7 separate regions of the Homo sapiens genome follow, and all the other regions are linked to region 7. The links are contacts of gene promoters, found by promoter capture Hi-C in blood cells and fetal thymus (Javierre and others, 2016). All regions are on one chromosome and are shown on one strand. The core of a region is centred on a gene start or on the middle of the fragment in contact, and the rest is flanking DNA. Distances in the headings are between cores, read along the strand shown.

Region 1 (2,744 bases), core at 124-2,623, 7.0 Mb before region 7:
TTCCTTAAACTTATTTATGACAGAGTCCTTTGCTCACATGTTTTCCGGCTGACCCTCTCCCCACCATTACCCTATAGTCCTTCCACATCCCCCTCACCAAGATAGTAGAGATAGTGATCAATAAATACTGAGGGAACTCAGAGACCAGTGCCGGTACAGGTCCTCATTTGCTGAGCGCCGGTCCCCTGGGCCCACTTTTCTTCCTCTATACTTTGTGTCTGTGTCTTATTTCTTTTCTCAGTTTCTCATTTCCACCTTGTGAGAAACACCCACAGGTGTGGAGAGGCAGGCCCCCTTCAATATCAAACTCCAAATGAACAACTATGGAAATGTGACAGCTAAAGACAACGCATAAACTGGACTTTGAATAGGTGAAGGGTGGGGCAGAGGACAGTCATAAGGACTTTAAATGAAAAATTTAACAAATTCGTATATGGAACTGCAGATTAGATAACATGATGCTAGGTAATATGCTATCCAACACTATCTAGTAAGTACACTACAAATACTAGTATTCTTTTAACACATCTATCTGACATGTAATCGGTAACAGTATTATTTAACATAATATCCAATATTATCTACCATGTTATGTGAAACCCTATAACCAGCCCTTCCTAAATGCCTCTTACCAAGACACCCCACAATTACCGTGGTATGTGGGCTTCCTTGCTGCAGAAAGCTACCAATCAGCTGTCTCTGGTTACAGGTATGTTCCTGGTGGTATTTGGTTGATGGTCATCAACAAAGCAAACAGGAAAAATGTAAACACTTGGCAAATTTGGGTAAAGGGTATATGAGAATTTCTTATACTGTTTTTGCAATTTTTCTATAGCTTTGAAATGATATCAAACGTTTTAAAATATCAGGCAACAAGAGACCACTCACCAAGTGACAGGGACAACTTTAAGGCTTTCATTTGTATTATCTCTTTCAATTCGCAAAACAATTCTATTAGGATGACCCTATAAGCACCATTTTAAAGAACAGCAATGGGAAGTACAGAGACATTAACATTCCACATCACACTGCGAGAAAGAGTGTACACACTGCATACGTAGGGAGGCGGACTGAGCGAGGTCAAAGTCCTGGAAACCCTCAGAGCAGGGCACACAAGGCCACCCCAATCCCACCCCCCGGGAGGCGAGCAAAGCCCCCCGACGCCAGAAGGCTCCGCTGACGGGAACAATAAACACCCTCCCCGCCCTCGCACCTCTAAACCTCTGCTCTTCGCCAAGGCTTCTTTTCCCCTGAGACGATCATCGATCATCGGGTGGTTGCGAGCCTCAAGCAAAGGGGGTTCGTTCAAAATGTCCTGCAAGACGCAGAAATGGCTCAAACTACCCCGGTCATTAAAGCAGGAACCTCAGACTAGGAGACCGGAAGTGTCCTCTCTGCGCCAGAGTGTCTGGACTCCACTCCCCAGAATTCCCCGGACCCGCCCCCCTGAGCCAAAGGGCCCGGGACTCCGCAGAGTGTCTGGACTATCGTTCCCAGAATTCAACGGTTCACCTGCCAGAGCCAAAATACCCAGTGTTCCACGAGCCAGTGGACTACACTTCCCGTAAAATGGACTACTCTTCCCAGAATTCTCCGGAAACGCCTACCTGAGCTGAAGTATCAGGAATCCCGCAAGGTGTCTGGACTGCAGAGCCTCAGATGCAAAAGGAAAATGTCCATCACCTCACCCTTTAGGCTCAAGTGTTGCGACTACATGGTGCTCCTCGATTACACTTCCCGCAACACCCACGGGGAACGAATTTCATAGCCCCAGGTTCCTGGTGGGGAATGCAGACTGTTACCCTGACAGTTGTCCTTCCCAGAGTCCTCGAGCGAAAATATTGAATAGAAAGAATTTATGAAGTCTAAATGTCTCCCATGATTGACAGGAGTGTTCTTGGACAGGGAACAAGCGAGGAGATACAATATTCAAGGAGCTAGATAGAGTGACTGTTGAGCCGTCAGATGGCTGAAAGGAGGCTCAGGGTTTAAAGCAAGGATATCCAACTCCAGGGCCACAGACCTGTACCGGTCCACTGACTGTTAGGAACCGGGCGGCACAGCAGGAAGTGAGCGGCAGGTGAGGGAGCATTATGGCCTGAGCTCCACCTCCTGTGAGATCAGCCCAGCATTACATTCTCATAGGAGCGCGGATCCTATTGTGAACTGTGCGTGCGAAGGATCTAGGTCAGGCGCTCCTTATGAGAATCTAATGGCTGAGGTGGAACAGTTTCATCCCGAAACCATTCCCCAGTCCGTGGAAAAATTGTCTTCCACAAAACCGGTCCATGGTGCTAAAACGGTTGGGGACCACTGGTTTAAAGAATGAGCCAGGTAGAATGGGTTGGGAGGGGCAATGAGAAGCCAGGAAAGCATCAGCCCCTGTAACTGAAAAGTAGATCAGTGGCTTCCCGTTTGCAACGTCCAGTTAACAAGAGGGAGATCTGGTATAAAGAAAGTGATTTATTCTAGAGCTAGCGTAGGGGAAGTAGCACAGGTGTTGTCTTTAAGTGCACGGCTTGGCTTTTAGAGCAGAAAGCAGGCACTTTTAAAAGGTAGGGGAGGAAGAGGGAAGGGGTCTGTGTGCTGGCTTGGTGCCTTATCTATTAGGCAGTTGAGCTGGCTTTTTCATGGGCAGAAATAAGTTGTAACCAGAAGGGAGAGAGTAGCAGGCACGCTTTCAACTGTTGTCTCTTCAGGCAACCTCCTGGTGAGTGAGAGTTCAGAGGCCAGCATGCTTTAGT
Region 2 (2,700 bases), core at 1-2,500, 7.4 Mb before region 7:
TACTTTATTTCTTTCTTTCTGTTACAATTTTCCTTTTCATTTAATTTCTTTCATTTGCACTTCTTTGGACATCATGCCATTTTATTTCACTCCATTCTCTGCCTTTAATTTTTATTGTATTCCTTTCTGTCCTATTCAATTTCCCTCCATTTCATTTATGCCTTTGCCATCTCTTTCAGTTACATTCCTAAATAGTCTATTCCTTTTCATTCATTTCCTTTCCTTTCCAATCTTTCATTTCATTCATGATATTTACTTCCCCACATTTTTCTCATGGGAGATTTGAAGCAGTTTTTCCCATGGAAGATTTGAAGCAGTTTATATACAACACTACAAAATGGTGTTAAATTAGAAATAGAAATTACAATCAGAAAAAATATTTTTAACAATAGCAAGAAGTCAATATATGGGTAAAAAGTAAAAATATATACTGGGCCTACGTGATATCTGCCACTATATCTCTTATGTGTCTCTAAGCTTCCTGGTAACAATAAAACAGAGAGGTATGATTAGTTACATCATTCAAAAAGAAGAAAACTGGGCCAGGCGCGGTGGCTCACGCCTGTAATCCCAGCACTTTGGGAGGTGGAGGCGAGCAGATCACTTGAGGTCAGGAGTTAGAGACCAGCCTGGCCATCATGGTGAAACGCTGTCTCTACTGAAAATACAAAAATTAGCTGGGCATGGTGGCAGGCACCTGTAATCCCAGCTACTTGGGAGGCTGAGGCAGAAGAATCACTTGAACCTGGGAGGCGGAGGTTGCAGTGAGCTGAGGTCGAGCTACTGCACTCCAGCCTGGGCAACAGAACAAGACCTTGTCTCAGAAAGAAAAAAATAAAAAAGAAGAAAACTATTAGTTCATCCAGGCATAAGCAAAATTCCAGTAACAAGTTTAGAGCAGTCAAGTGATGGCTCCATAGTTCTAAGGACTAGTAGAATTATTTTAGAGAATGCAAGTGATCTCAACCCTGTCATCAGGACAGCCAGATTACTCCAATTCCAAGAATGGACTTCAGATTCTATATTCTGAACAAGCCAGTGACCAGTCAGAATTTATCCAGAGGAGGAATAAGAGAGAGGCCAGAACAGGGGCTCAAATCCATGTCCTACTGACAGGGTTTTCTTGGGTTTGGAAAAGAGAAAGTTTAGGGACAGAGAACTCCAATATTTTAGTGTCTGACAGGCTTCAAGTAGAGGGATAAATGTGTTCCTTGTTGTTCCAGAGGGCACATAAATTACCATGGAGGATAGGTAAAAGAAGGGTAGATTTTAGCCTAACAGACAGATAACTATTCTTGAAAAATGTGAATATCCTATACACCTTTTTAGTTTTTTGAGACAACGTATTGCTCTTTCACCCAGGTTGTGTGCAGTAGTGCGATCATGGCCAACTGCAGCCTCAGATTCCTGGGCTCAAGCGATCATCCCACCTTGGCCTCCCAGAGTATTGGGATTACAGACGCAAGCCACTGCACCTGGCTGAATGTTTCATATATTAATATCTTAGTCAAGAATTTTTAATGTTAAGAAAGTTAAACCCTTTGAATGTAGTTCGAATGGGGATTAATTGAGAGAACACTGAGAAATATCAGATAACTCAATTTCAGAAATTACTCCTGGGCCTCTTGGCGACTTGAATGCTATCAAGAAGCTGTTTCTCTCTTATTATACAGTTTCTCATTTTCACTAATCTATGAATTCATCTCATTCTTCTCAATCCAGATTGAATTTCTATGTAAATGTCCTGGTCATTGCTTCTCTATAACTTCAGAGTATATATAACAACATCTTCTGCTGCCCTTTAAGCATTTCTAGGTTCAAATTCTCCATAGAAGAATCAGATTGATTCAGGCCATGGTATGGATCATGTTTAGTTTTGTCAGCTCTCTAATCAGCTTTGAACTGGTAAAAACTTAGCCACCTAAGTCCCTCTCTTCACCAGTGTCTGCGTAGGGGAGCCATGTTTGTTTCCTATTATTAGTCGGGCAAAAGGTCTTCCCAGAAATACCACCTAGTAAGCTTCCTCTTATATCTCATTAGCCAGAATAAGGTCATATGGTGCTCCTTGTAGCAACAGAGGCTGAGAAAGTGGTACATTAACATTCCCAGCCTCTTCAATAGAAGCAAGCAAGGGAGGTGGTGTGGGGAAGAAGGTTAGGTCAGTCAACTCAGTGAACTCAGTGTCTGCTACATTCTGGAGGGATTAGAAGGAGCAAACCATGCAAACAGTATGAAAGGAAACATTCCAACTTGAGAGGCATCAGTAAAAAAGGCCCTGAAGAGGGTGTAGAGTTATCAGTTGCTGTATAATGAATTACCACAGACTTTGCAGCTTAAAACAACATGAATTCATTATCTCACAGTTTCTGTGGGTCAGGAGTTCAGGCATTGCTTAGTTAGCTCTTCTGCAAGGCTGTATAATCAAGGTGCCAGTCAAAGCCCAGGTCTCATCTGAGGCTCAGCTGGGGATGGATCCACTTCCAAGCTCATGTGGTCATTAGCAGCATTCAGTTCCTTGCAGGCTGTCATAATGAGGGCCTCAGTTTCTTACTGTCAGCTGGAGGTCATCCTCAGTTCTTTGCCATGTGGCCCTCTCCACAGGCAGCTCACAACATTGCATCTTGCTTCTTCAAGCCAAGACAGAAGTCATAATCTTATGTAACAGAATCACATACATGCAATCATGTATATCCTGCCACC
Region 3 (2,713 bases), core at 123-2,622, 7.2 Mb before region 7:
AGACCGGCAGGCCAGCAGGCCATTAACCGGTGGAATAACGCAGTTTGGCCTGGGTAGTCGGAGGAGCGCCCAGGCCGCTGAGAGGCTGACTCCAGGCGAAAACCATCTCCCTTCTGGCTCCCCCTTCTGCTGAGAGCTACTTACAAATCGTTCTCCAAGGTTTCTCCAATCCTTGCACTCTTTCTCCAAGCCTATGTGTGATGCGATTCTTCTGGTACACCAAGGCAAGAACCTCTGGGATACAGAAAGCCCTCTCTTGCTTGCGATAAGTCAGGGGTCTAATTGAGCTAACACAAGCCTCCTACAGATGGCTGAACTAAAAAAGCACCCTATAACACACGCCCACTGGGGCTTCAGGAGCTGTAAACATTCACCCCTAGACACTGCCGTGGGGTTGGAGCCCTACAACCTGCCCGTGTGCATGCTCCCCTAGAGGTTTGAGCGGCTGGGCACGAAGAAGCGAGCCACACCCCATCACATGCCCTGGGAGAGGGAGAAGTGAACTTTTCCCGTTTCATCACAATTTACTTTCGGCACTAACATGATTGTTCAGCTGTCTTCATCAGCAGGCCTTTATTCCAGGAGATTCCTGCCCAAGCAAACTGTTTAATTGTTCATTATGGGAACTTCCACAGAGACCCATCAAATTTTCAATCTCTTCCAAAGAAAGTGTCAATAGATTGCAATTTAAGATTCTTTGCTTCAAAAATCCTTGCTATATCCACCAATCCTGGACTGTAGTATCATGATCATTATGCAATACTAATAAAATCCCTTGCATTGAAAGACCCGCCTTAAACATCCAGTTCTCAATCAGTTCCAACCTTGCCTTGACACTTTGCTCTGTGAAGGTGCCAACGCTCCGTCGAAGTGTTGTTCTCCATTACTGCAATCAACAATAAATTCTGTTTTTTGTCTTATCAACAGGTTGAGTTGATGATATTTGGGGAGCCGGCATTTGACACAAGTTTGAGATCTGGTGTTCCTTAACGTTCAGCGTCCATCGGAGCTCAGCCTAAGTCACTTTTACGCTTCCCATTTTAGCCTACCCTCTGCTTCTGCGAAAAATTTTGGTTTCTAACTTATTTTAATAATACAAGCTGCACTTTTCATTTTTATATGTCATCACTTTAAAAATTTTACAATTATTTTCTCATGAGCTTTTAAAAATGAATAAAACAAAAACGAATCTCACAGTAGTAGCACCAGAGAAGTGGCTCAAACCCAACCGGCTTGAGTCAAAACAAAGCCCAGCTGGTGGGAAGCGCTGCCCTTGGAGCATTCTGGGAACTGTAGTCCAGGAGTGAGAGAACTCTGAGACGCTTCCGCTTAGGAATTCTGGGAAGTGGAGTCCACGAACCGTGGGCACTCGGAGGCACTTCCGCTCCAGGAAGGCGAGGTCGGATCTGAGATATCTCCCAGGGAGGTGAGTCAGCTCCGGGTCTCCAAGACTTCTCCGAGCCCTCTTTGCCTAGGCGTGGGGCCAGCAATGAACCCGTCCTTGGCTTGGGGAAGAGAAGCCGCGGCCAGCGCTGGAGGGCGGGGTTGGGAGGCTGCGGGAGTTTGCGTCCCCTCGGCAGAACCTCTTGCGTGGGAGGCGGGCTCGCGTCGTCCTTCGAGGTTGAGGGTCTGCTGCCCTAGCCGTCCTCACGCACCTACCAGCCAGTCCTGCCTGCTCCTCGCAGTAAAATATTGGGCAAGTTACTTAATCTCTCCTTGTCTCAGTTTCCTCGTGCCTGTAAAGGGTTAGTGCGTTCCCAGTGATGTTCTTGTGAGAATTAAATGAGGTTTTATAGAAATAAGCTTAAAACCAGTGCATAGGAAAATGTTGGATGCCACCGTTAATTCTGTTATAATACTGAAAAAGACGCCTGTTGTTTGGAAACTCCTCTGAGTCTAGGAGATCCAGCTACGGAGCCGCTGTCCCTTCTCTAATCCTTGCCTGATGTGGGGCCGTTCCTGGATTCTTGGACTTTTCTAGCCTCTTGTTTAGGAGACAGGAATTAGTTCCAGCGGAGCCTGGGGAATGTCCTGTGTGTTTTATCTCAGATAAGCGATCGTCATTACGGATTTGCAGAGTGCCAGAGGTGTCCTGAGGCCCTAATAAATGTTCAGTATAATGTGGTTATAACCAATAATCCCGTGTGGTTAACTTAAGTGTAACACCATTTCTTAGAGAGTTTTAGGTTTTTATTAGTCATTGCTTTCATGCATGTGGAAAAAGAGACTTTCTTGAGGCTCCTCCAGCTTAGTAACATTTGCAAGTAATTACATCTGTTGGAGGAAAAAAAAACCTGTGGCAGTTTAACTATCATTACCAACGGAACTAATTATGTTAGACAACCAATCACAGTTACAGACTTTTCTGAGGGTAATGGTAACTCACAGGACAGAGCAATTATTTTTGAGTTCTGGGTTTCTTAAAAGATTCATTTTCTAGAAAGCATACTCAAAAGGGCAGTTTTATGAAGCATAATAGCACTTGCTTGTCAGAAGCTGCAGGAAATAGAGAATACAGGCATTATTATTGTCCCCATTCACAGGTAACTGAATTAAGGCACAGAGAGATTAATAATTCGCTTAAGGTTTATACTGCTGATCAGTTGAAAATAGGTAGAAATGCCAAAATTTGAAGCCAGGCATTTTGGCTCTGTTACATTCCCCTGCCTGTCTGTGTCTCATTTCCTTGGAAACTAAAGTTCAGAAGGAGTAC
Region 4 (2,720 bases), core at 94-2,593, 6.9 Mb before region 7:
TCTGTTGTTCAAAATGTGGGGAGGGATAGTTATCATATACTTCTCTTTTCTCTCACCAGAGTAAGCCAAGGGTGACAGGGTGGGAGGCTAAAACTCTGAGAGAATCTCATCTTTTGGGTCAAAGGATCTTGGGAAGAAAGCCCTTAGAATCCAGAGAGTGTGAGAGAAGATTCAGAAGACAGAGCTGGAGAAGGGGATACCTCAGTTTTGTGGATGAACTGACACAATTTAAAGGCTCATCACTAAGCTGCACATTCAAATAACACACCCAAAGGAACATAGAAAATACATTGAGAACTGAACTATGTTATAAACCATTGCTCAGAAATCAGCTAATCCCTGAGTGGCGCACTGAGTGGCATACCCAAATAGCACAGCAAAGTTTTTAGAACTAACACATAGAGAATATGAGACAAAACTTATGATATGAAATTAAGTACAGGAGCAGTGGCTCACGCCTGTAATCCCAGCACTTTGGGTGACTGACGTGGGCAGATCACTTTGAGATCAGGATTTTGAGACCAGCCTGGCCAACATGGTGAAACCCCATCTCTACTAAAAATACAAAAATTAGCCAGGTGTGGTGGCATGTGCCTGTGATCCCACCTATTTGAGAGGCTGAGGCAGAAGAATTGCTTGAACCCAGGAGGCAGAGGCTGCAGTGAGCTGAGATCACGCCACTACACTCCAGCCTGGGTGACAAAGCAAGGCTCCATCTGAAAAAAAAAAAAAAAAAAAAAAAAAAAAAAAAGGAAATTAACCTGGTTGGCTGCCTGCTAAAACAAACAAAAAAAAAACCCTCAATGTTCTCTATAGATTTTAATAGGACCAGAATCTGGTAACATATTGAAAATGCTCAGGATACAATCCAAAATTACTTGACATGTAAAAAGAAAAACAGGTATATCTGACCAACTTCAAGAAAAAAGCCATTCAAGAGATTCCAACCCCTGAATGTTCTAGATTTTTGCATTATCAGAGACTTTTAAAAGTTATTGTAATCATTCTCCATGAGGTATAGGTAAGCATTTGAAATAAATGGAAATATAAAAGTTGTCAGAAAACTAGAAACTATAAAAGCAAGCAAATGGAAATTTCAGAACTTCAAAATACAATAACTGAAATTTAAAATCAGTCAGTAGCAGAATGGAGATGACAAAGGCAACTCATTGAGCTTAAAAACTGAACAGTATAAAATATCGAATCTGGAGGAGAAAAAGCAAAAATAGAAAAACTGAATTGAGCCCTAAGGACATTTGGGACAACATTAAAAGATCTAACATTCCCATGATTGGAATTCCAGAAGAGGAGGAGAAAGGTATTGAAATAGGAAACTTTTCAAATAAATTATAGTCGAATACTTCACCAATTTAATAAAAGAAATACATCTGCAGATTGAAAAAAAACTCAGCAAAACCTAAATATGTTAAAAATGAAGAAAACCATACCCCAGCACATCATAATGAAACTATTAAAATATCAAAGATAAAGAAAAAAATGTTTGAAAGCGTTTAAAGAAAAATTATACATTGCAAATAGGGCAACAACATTTCAAATGAATGCAAATTTCTTATCAGAAACCCTGGATGTCAGAAGACAGTAAAACAGCATTTTAATGTGCTGAAAGTAAAGAATTGTCAATCCAGACACTATATTCAAGGAAAATATCCTCCAGAAATGGAAATAAAATAAGGACCTTCTCAGACAAAAGAAAACTAAGAGAATTCATCACTAGCAGATATACTTTAAAAGAAATGCTGAAGAGAAATAATATCAGAGGAAAGTTTCAGGAATGAAGGCAGAGAAACAGAACTAGTAAACTTGGTACACATAATACAATATTTCCCCCCCTTTTAAATTCTTTAAAATATATATGATGGTTGAATATAAAAATTTAAAGTATTGGTGGGATTTTTCAGAGCATGTAGATATAATACACACACTATAGCACAAAGAGGGGAGGATAAACAGATCTCAATAGTTGTAAGTTTTCCTTGTTTTATGTGAAGCCATAAACTATTGGCTCAAAATAGTCCACAATATGTTAGGTATGTATACATGGGTTTCTAAAGCAACACTAAATCAAACAAAACAAAAGATAAAACCAAAGTCATGTAGTTTAAAAATAACATGTACAGCCTGGGCAACAGAGTGAGACTCTTGTCTCAAAAAAAAAAAAAAAGCAAATAAAAATAGAGCATTAAAAAAATTCAAATAATCCAAAAGAAGAAAGAAAGGAGGTAACATAGGAACAAAAAGAGACAAACACAAAAATAATAAATTGGTAGGTATAAATCAAACCATATAAATAATTACATTAAATGTGAAGTGTCTAACTACATAAAGACAATGTTTGTCACATTATTTATTTTAAAAACGTGACCCGATCAGGCATGGTGGCTCACACCTGTAATCCCAGCACTTTGGGAGGCCGAGGCGGGCGGATCACGAGGCCTGGAGATCGAGACCATCCTGGCTAACGCGGTGAAACCCCGTCTCTACTAAAAATACAAAAAATTAGCCCGGCGTGGTGGCGGGCGCCTGTAGTCCCAGCTACTCGGGAGACTGAGGCAGGAGAATGGCATGAACCCGGGAGGCGGAGCTTGCAGTGAGCCGAGATTGCGCCATTGCACTCCAGCCTGGGCGACAGAGCCAGACTCCGTCTCAAAAACAAATAAACAAACAAACAACAACAACGAAAAAAAGTGACCCAACTATAA
Region 5 (2,758 bases), core at 169-2,668, 7.1 Mb before region 7:
TAAATCTTTGGTAAATAAACTGATTTTAGTGGACAATTAAAGCCACTAGGACCAGGCATGGTGGCTTGTGCCTGTAATCCCAGCCAGCTGGGAGGCTGAGATGAGAGAAATACATGAAACCAGGACTTCCAAACCAGCCTGGGCAACATAACAAGACCCTGTCTCTAAAAATATTTCTTTAGAAATTAGCCAGATGTGGTGATGCACGCGTGTCTCCCCAGCTACTCAGGAGGCTGCGATAACAGGATCACTTTGCCCAGGAGTTCAACGCTGTAGTGAGCTGTGATTGTACCACTGCACTCCAGCCTGGGCAACAGAGTGAGACCTTGTATCTAAACAACAACAGTAACAACAAAATAAGAATAATAATAAATGCCACTAGGAACGTCACTGCCATCTATGACGGACTCCAGTCTCCAAAGAAAACGTCTCCCATGTAAGGATAAAATAGTCACAGACAAGGAAGATTACCACTGAGGCACCTGCCAGTCTCAAGAAAATTTCTACACAACCAGGGAAAACTTGGTCATAGGTTAGACAACTAGGACAAAGGCCATCTGCCAAGTATAAAAAGATGAATTCTGTGTCAGGTACACTAGTTAAAACAAAACAGCTTGGTCAATGCTTTTGACAAAATTTTTGGGCTTTTCTTTGCTCTTGAGAGATTGATAAGAAATGCAATGGGATCTTCAACTTCTAAAGAATGCCAAGCCCTCTGGCACTTGAGGCAGCTATACATTTGAAATTTATGGTCCTTTCTCATGCACATTTAAAAAATAATTGGCAAATTACACTAAGGATAATGTACGGCCATTATGGGAATTATTTAAACTCTCTAAGCTTGTTTCCTTAGAGCTGAATTAAGAGACTGGAACTGTAGGATTAACATGTACGGGCTTCTAAGCTAGCTCTCTTTTTTTCTCTGCTCGCTCTGAATCTGCTAACTTGTTTGCTTGTATTAAATTTGTTAATAAGTTCAAGGATTCTTGGAAGTTTATTTTTCTAGCCAATCCTAACTGAAATGTAAATATCCAGAAGTTAATTAAAACAACTCATTTAAAATTGAAGAGGAAAAAAGGGTAAAAGATTTTTCAAAAACTAAAATGCTATAAAAACAGCTTTACCCAAAATTTGGTCCACTTCCCTCATAAGATTACCTATCAAAGGCAAAAGAAAAAAAAAAGATTAGCAATATGAAAAACTGATCTTAACTTGTCCCATTTTTTCAGAAATATAATTTGGATCCAACTGTCTTTTTTTATACACTTGTGATTTTATATTAGTATATTTTACAGTTTCTTGACTACAATTTTACAGTGATAAGCTATAAGATCTTTTTGTGTTTCTGTATGTTTCTTGGTCTGTGTTATACATACATAATATTCTTCTACAGAAATATATAAAAGAACTTTATGAAACTGATGTAAAGAAAAAAAATTAAGCAATTTATCAGAAAAAATAGTAAATAACTATTTACTAAAAATAGTAATAAACCCAACTTTTAAAAATTTGTGTGACTTAGGTAAATCTTTGGTAAATAAACTGATTTTAAAATTGTTGTTAAAATAGTGAGGTCTTCAGAATTGCAAGCATACATTTTGCCTGGATATATTTGTCAGACAATTTTCTTTTTATATAAGATGAATCTTATGGAAAAAATTTGTGTTTAATCAAGTTGCCTATAGTTAAAAGGGAATTATTCACAGGTTTTATCAAAAATTGAGTATTAATACAGTGATACAAAACCAGAATCCATTCACCTATGTTTAAAGCAACAAGGTTTTCTTGATGTATTTATGTGATTTTAGTTAAAAAAAATCTGCAAGAGGTTTTGATATTCTGAAATCCGTTTAAATTTTCAGCCGTCTTCTGAACTGCAGCTTTTTCCTGTTTTACACTTTCCACTTAATTTCCCTTATTCCAGCTTTAAAATACTATCTCCCTCATTTAAAAATAGTAATTTAGTTTCTCAAAAGAACTTTCCTTTTGAAGCTTTTCAAATTCATATCTCAGTTCCACTTTGCTGTATCTCATTGCACATGATTTGATGAGAAACATGCTTCATGTTGTCTTTAATTAGGTTTTTGATTACTTAGGTGCTTTGAAAGAATTAAGGTTTGTTTTTTTTACATCTACGTAAAGTTCTGCATTTGTTTTTGGAAGCTTTTTTCACTCTGATTAAGTGAACGACTAAAATCATGCATCATTGCCTTCAGCTCTTCCTTGTCTCCTTAGGGATGATAACCCTCTCCCTCAACTTTGGAGTCAGCTCCTGTAACTCTCTCCCTCTCTCACCTCTCACTCCTCTTGCTTCTCTCGCTCTCTCGCTCGCTCTCTCTCTGGCTCTCTCTCCAGTTCTGACTCTGCTATTGTGGCCTAACACTAAAAATGTTTGTCTTTAAGGCCTAGGAGAATCTAGGGGAATAATATTTTCTTCCAGTATAATTTGATTCTGTAATTTTGTCTTTTCTTGATGTGTCTGAATTGCTGTTTAACCAATAAATTCCACATTCTTTTACTTTTTCTAAGAGCCACATATCCGCCTGCTCAAGGTACTTGTTTTCTTGTTTATCTTTTCTATAATATGGTACACTCATAACCTTGGATACACACTCTTCCAGTGTTTAGTTGAATTCAAGTACCTTTTCATCAGGCTCAACTTCCAGGTTATTGAAATGGGTTTCCCATAGGGAGAAGCAATCACAAGGGGTTTTTAAATATGTAGAAGGTTTTTATCTTTTGATAGCTGGCCTAGGAA
Region 6 (2,700 bases), core at 89-2,588, 7.1 Mb before region 7:
TTGTATGGTTTCTCTCCTGTGTGGACACTCTGATGAAGTTGAAGACTTGAGGCCTGACTGAAGTACTTACCACACTCCCCACATTTATATGGTTTTTCTCCTGTGTGCACCCTCTGATGCATGTCAAGGTTCAAGCTCCACTTGAAGCCCTTCCCACACTCATCACATTTGTATGGCTTATCTCCAGTGTGGACTTTTTGATGGGCTTGAAGATGTGCACTCCGACCGAAACTCTTCCCACATTCTTCACATTTGAATGGTTTTTCTCCACTGTGGACTCTCTGATGGGCCAAAAGATTTGAGGCCTGCCTGAAGACCTTCCCACACTCCTCACAATTATATGGTTTCTCTCCTGTGTGGATCCTACAGTGAATTTTAAGATCTGCTCTACGACTAAATCCCTTGCCACACTCTTCACATTTGTATGGTTTCTCACCCGTATGGATCAGCTGGTGAATCTGAAGTCGTGAGCTCTGATTGAAACCCTGCCCACACTCCTCACACTTAAAAGGTTTCTCTATACTGTGGGCCTTCTGATGGATTTGAAGATACGAACTTTGACTGAAGCCCTTCCCACATATCTCACATTTATAGGGTTTCTCTCCTGTGTGGACCACTAGATGAACTTGATAATGGGAATTCCTCCTGAAGCTCTTCCCACACTCATTGCATTTGTATGGCTTCTCTCCAGTGTGGACTCTCTGATGGGCTTGAAGATTTGAACTCAGAGTAAAGCCTTTCCCACATACAGTACATATGTATGACTTCTCTCCAGTGTGAACTCCCTGATGGGCCTGAAGACTTGAAGGCCGACTAAAGCCTTTACCACATTCCTCACATTTATAGGGTTTTTCTCCTGTGTGGACTCTCTGATGAATGTAAAGATTTGAGCTACAAATGAAGCCCTTACCACACTCCTCACATTTGTATGGTTTCTCTCCTGTATGAACTCTTTGATGGGATTGAAGATGTGAATTCCGACTGAAGCTCTTACCACATGCATCACATTTGAATGGCTTCTCCCCAGTGTGGAGTCTCTGATGGTCCTGAAGATGAGAGGCCTGACTGAAGGCCCTCCCACACTCCTCACAATTATAAGGTTTCTCTGCCGTGTGGACCTTGCAATGAACATTAAGTGCTGATCTACGACTGAAACCTTTCCCACATTGCTTACATTTGTATGGTTTCTCTATCACGTGGACTTTCTGATGGGTCTGTAGATGAGCGCCCTGACTGAATTCCTTACCACACTCATCACACTTAAGTTTTTCTCCCACATGTACTTTCTGATGAACAGGAAGAACTGGGCTGTAACAGAAGCCTTTTCCACGCTCAACACATGTAAGAGACTTCTCTCCTGATTGTAACTGCTGATGAAGATCAAAGCTGGAGAGATCACTGAAGGGTTTTTTACACTCATTACACTGGTACGATTTCTGTCCTGTGTGAATCATGCTATTGTGATCAAATGTCAAAATCTTCATGTTGTCTTTTTCATAATCATTGGGTCTATAAGATTTTTCACTTTTGTGTACTCTATGACCATCATGATGTGAAATCCAACCGATGGGATCAACACCCTTCTTACATTGACATAATTTATTTTTTATGGAAATTTGCTGATCTCTGTTCAATCTCTGTGACTCAGTCAGGAATGTTTTCCTCCAAGAATCCTGGGTTCTCAAGATAGGAAACTCTGGATTCCCAGTATTATTGGGACCATCTGCTTTATTTACTATATAGTTCTCATCTTCAGAAATTTGAATAGACAGTTCTGTCCCTACCTGGTAAGGGAAATCACCTTGTTTGTGACACTGAGAATTATTGATCATGGAGTCTTGACACCTGGTTAAGTCATTTGCAATTTGTTGCCAGATTTGCCAACAAGAAAGCTCTTCTTCTGATTCTCTGTCTTGAACAGTAATTAACTTACTTTGATTTTTCTCTCCTGTAAGGACAAAGGATTCAGAGAGATAGTGAATTTTTTTGTTCAAAGATTTAAGATTTCACACTGAGGACAGAGTAAAAGACTTTAATGAACCTCGGGATAGTTCTGCTCATCTTTTGTGACACATTTGAAGTTTCTGGTTTACATACTGACAGAAACCAAGAGATGGTCCAAAACCAAGAGATGGTCCACCAAGCTCCCAATTGCTAAGCACTAATGAAACCCATTTAAAAACACAACTACTGACATACTATCTAAATTTTTTATTCCATGTCTTTCCTACCATAATATGGTATCAATAAGGAAAAACATTTTGTAGTGCTCACAGTTTACAACCACAGCCCAGAAGTTACTGCCCGGCAGTCATTCATAGTCACTCAAGGAATGTATGCATATATGAGTCCTTCCAACATTTCTTCATATATAAATGACTTCCAACATTTCTTCTAACTTCAAATCCAAGTTTAAGTTTGAGCCAGGTCATAGAGCAAAAGAGCTTTTACAAGTAAGGTATCTGAAATACAAAAAGAACTAGAAAGTACAGTTTTGCTGCAAAGTTGAAAAGCTGTACCTGAGGTAGGGGTACACCAAGTGAGTTATTGCTGAAGAGAAAAATCAAAGTTGATAATCACTTGGGGTGAAAGGAAAGCATGAAGACCTATGCACTGGATCCTTCTAAGGCTTTTGCACTGAGTCAAAATTGGAAGGCTAGCAAAGAATGCTGTCTCTTTGAAAGCAAGGTATAGAAAGTT
Region 7 (2,742 bases), core at 84-2,583:
TTACAGATGTGAGCCACCGCGCACAGCATCCAGTGGCTGTCTTGAAGGTATTATCAGCCCTAAAATTCTCATCCTAAGACCAGGTCTGTAACTTGCAAATAACTCCTATTCATCACTCAGGTGTCCAAATGTCTGACTTCCTTACTTCTTGCCACTTCCCTGCACCCAATCCCCTTAAGGCTATAAGGCAAGAGGACGCAGGGAAGAAGTCGTGAACTCGTAAGTAACTACATTTCCCAAGGTGAACCGAGGATGGATACAGAAATGAAGCAATACAGGCCATGGATGAAAGGGCAGCCACTGTGGTCAAATCAAAAAGTCCTTAAGTCCTCAGAGCCACATGGGAGGAGCACAGAGCCACATGGGACTCACAATCCATAGGCAGACCTCAGCCCCAAATGAACCCCAGAAATACCAAAAAGAAATTTACTTCTGTACTGGACTAAACCCCCATAAGGTCACAGAATATACAAATGGCCACATAAAGTCACACATAATCACATTTCCACAGTTACACAGCTAGAGGCACAATCACCCAATTATGCTACATTGTTAGACCACCTTGTCTCAAACAAAATCCCATTAAGTACAAGGCATATAATTACATCCAAGCACCTTGTCAGAGACACATACCGCCAAAAACACCCTTTCAAAGCTGCAATTTTAGTCTCTTTACACAGTCATGAAAACAGCACACACAACCCCACAGTCACACACAATCAGACAGTCACCCAACCCAGTACGAAATCAGGGAAACACGCGGTAATAAACACCGTGTCACAGCAACACTGTCACACACCTTAAATTTACTGGCAAATCCATCCCACGATATCAGGTTTACACACAACCTCAAAGTGACACAAGAACATCCAAACACTCTTGTCACAACTGTCACACACTTCATAGTCACAGGCAAACCCCAATTATACACGCGGCACACATAAAATCACAGTCACATAAGTATATCCCAGCCAGGTAAGCAAACAGTCACAAACACCCTCAGAGTCACAACTCACACTCATACAAATGCTCATACACAAAACCACAGCCACACACGTCCAGTCGTGTATGCACAGGCAGTCGCCAATACCAGGCAGGCTGTAGCCTGCACACAAAACCGGAGACACGGCCACACGAGTAACCCCAGCGACGCTTTCTCCGCGCGTGTCCGCTCCGGCATCCCGGACACTCCTACCTTGACAGAGGTGCAGTTCAGGGTCCAAGATCTGGCTCCCGGGTTCCAAGCCCAATTTCGGGTTCGCCAGCCCAGCAGGTGCGGAGCCAAGCTCCTCCACAGACGCGGCCCTCTCCCCACGCGAGGCCTCCAAATCTCGCAAACTAACGGAAATGAAGCTACGCTCCGGGAGCGGTGCCTCTGGGAAATGTAGTCCAGCGCTCCGGACGCCGTGCCTCTGGGAAATGTAGTCCAGCGCTTGGCTAGCCGGCCAGAACGCCAGGAGGCCCGGGCCGCTCACCCCTCGAGGGGCTCGTGGGCTCGGCCTGTGGAACCTGCTTGTCCCGCCTGCAGCGCCCCGGAGGTTTCTGGGAGTGCCCGCCCGCCCGCGCTCAGTGCGCAGGCGTCAGACGCTCAGGGCCTGCGAGAGCGAGCTGAGTGGTCCCAGGGTCTACCCCTGGCAGGAGAGAGGGTGGGACCCGCCGGCCAGGCAGGTGCGGGGGAGGAGCTGGGGCCGGTGCGGGGACCCGCCGGAACCTCGGATTTGCAGAGGACCCTGTGTGTGCCCTCCCAGGCCCTTGGGGTGTGTGTGACAATGGGAGATGCCAGGTGGACTGAGAGTCTTTCCGTGGCCGGGTGTGTATGGTTGTGTTTCTGCCTGTGTGTGATTCTTCCTGCTGTGGGGTGTGAGGTGATTTGTACTTTAAGCTGCGTAGTAATGGGATTTTATAACTGTGTAGAATCGTCTAACAGAGTAAGACGATTTTACACAGATCTCTATTGTGGTTTGCTTATGAAGGGTATCTGTATGTATATCTGCTTTTTTGTGTGTGGCCGTAATTGAGTAACTGGTGATCTGTGTTATATAAACGTGCTTTCTTTGTGCTTGTATTTCAGTGTCTGTAAGGGTGCCAAGAGCAAATGAGCTGTGTGTGATCGTGTGTGACAGTGAAAATACTATGGCCAAGTTATTTCTTCCTTAAATAGTAATGTAATAATCTGGAAAAGATAATCAATTTATCTGACAAGTAATTTAGACATCATTTTTCTATTGGATCAAATATATGTGTTATCGGGAAGAATCCAAAATTAACGTAGTTTTTTCTTTGTTTTTAGAAAGATTATTTCAAAACCAGTCCTAGGGTAACTGCCTTTTCCTCTGCCACAGCAGGCCAAAAGTAGATATCCATTATTTTCTAATTAGAGGGTAAAGTTTCTCTTATTACTGGGTACGGTTGAGAGGCCATCAACTAATAAAATAATAAAACAACGTTATACATAAGAAGAGTGAATTTTAGCACAGTACAGCACTAGTCAGATTTCCCAAATTCTAGGTCAAACACTTGTCCTCATTTTCTGATGAGAAAACCTTGGCCGGCAGAAAGTAACTTAAGGCTGTAGAGTTTGTTGGTAAACCTGAACTTATTTTTACTTACTTCAAGACCTCTTGGCCTTTTATGATTTTTGAATAATCAAAAACTTGTGAACTTCCAGCACAGAGAAGATAGAGTATAATTTCACCACTCCTTCAGAGGGAAAAAAATTAATAAAACTTGGTCTTGCAAGAC

The links. Contacts are between HindIII fragments. The CHiCAGO score rates a contact against its expected background, and 5 or more counts as called.
Region 1: a contact is called between the fragment with the promoter of ZNF223 here and the fragment with the promoter of ZNF420 in region 7, in 2 of 17 cell types (non-activated CD4 T cells and total CD4 T cells). The highest score is 6.0, in non-activated CD4 T cells.
Region 2: a contact is called between a fragment that was not itself captured here and the fragment with the promoter of ZNF420 in region 7, in 1 of 17 cell types (total CD4 T cells). The highest score is 7.5, in total CD4 T cells.
Region 3: the fragment with the promoter of ZNF235 here is called in contact with the fragment with the promoter of ZNF420 in region 7 in 6 of 17 cell types (total CD4 T cells, non-activated CD4 T cells, activated CD4 T cells and 3 more); the score reaches 22.8 in total CD4 T cells.
Region 4: a contact is called between a fragment that was not itself captured here and the fragment with the promoter of ZNF420 in region 7, in 1 of 17 cell types (non-activated CD4 T cells). The highest score is 8.2, in non-activated CD4 T cells.
Region 5: a fragment that was not itself captured here is called in contact with the fragment with the promoter of ZNF420 in region 7 in 1 of 17 cell types (non-activated CD4 T cells); the score reaches 6.3 in non-activated CD4 T cells.
Region 6: a fragment that was not itself captured here is called in contact with the fragment with the promoter of ZNF420 in region 7 in 2 of 17 cell types (non-activated CD4 T cells and total CD4 T cells); the score reaches 6.2 in non-activated CD4 T cells.

What each region holds. Positions count from the first base shown.
Region 1 is chr19:44,050,665-44,053,408 of GRCh38, reverse strand. ZNF223 (zinc finger protein 223) reads right to left here and starts at 1,373. Exons shown (of 5, transcript NM_013361.6): 1 at 1,214-1,373. RefSeq lists enhancers at 1,147-1,386, 1,206-1,707 and a silencer at 1,427-1,486. The HindIII fragment of the contact is 18,414 bases long and covers 1-2,744 here.
Region 2 is chr19:44,506,530-44,509,229 of GRCh38, reverse strand. The region is part of intron 11 of CEACAM20 (CEA cell adhesion molecule 20); the gene reads left to right. Among named protein-coding and RNA genes, the nearest start is that of ZNF180, 7.4 kb to the right of the region's middle. The HindIII fragment of the contact is 1,542 bases long and covers 480-2,021 here.
Region 3 is chr19:44,303,684-44,306,396 of GRCh38, reverse strand. ZNF235 (zinc finger protein 235) reads left to right here and starts at 1,372. Exons shown (of 5, transcript NM_004234.4): 1 at 1,372-1,426. RefSeq lists enhancers at 1-459, 1,036-1,589. The HindIII fragment of the contact is 5,796 bases long and covers 1-1,805 here.
Region 4 is chr19:43,942,807-43,945,526 of GRCh38, reverse strand. No RefSeq gene overlaps it. Among named protein-coding and RNA genes, the nearest start is that of ZNF221, 7.1 kb to the left of the region's middle. The HindIII fragment of the contact is 3,684 bases long and covers 1-2,720 here.
Region 5 is chr19:44,191,870-44,194,627 of GRCh38, reverse strand. It overlaps a transcript of ZNF226 not described here. Among named protein-coding and RNA genes, the nearest start is that of ZNF227, 19 kb to the left of the region's middle. The HindIII fragment of the contact is 1,152 bases long and covers 843-1,994 here.
Region 6 is chr19:44,174,746-44,177,445 of GRCh38, reverse strand. It overlaps ZNF226 (zinc finger protein 226), which reads right to left. Exons shown (of 6, transcript NM_001032373.2): 6 at 1-1,948. Among named protein-coding and RNA genes, the nearest start is that of ZNF226, 11 kb to the right of the region's middle. The HindIII fragment of the contact is 8,400 bases long and covers 1-2,700 here.
Region 7 is chr19:37,077,024-37,079,765 of GRCh38, reverse strand. It overlaps ZNF420 (zinc finger protein 420), which reads right to left and starts at 1,333. Exons shown (of 5, transcript NM_144689.5): 1 at 1,196-1,333. LOC105372390 (a long non-coding RNA gene) reads left to right here and starts at 1,569. Exons shown (of 2, transcript XR_001754095.2): 1 at 1,569-1,668. RefSeq lists an enhancer at 1,258-1,497 and a silencer at 1,588-1,877. The HindIII fragment of the contact is 14,557 bases long and covers 1-2,742 here.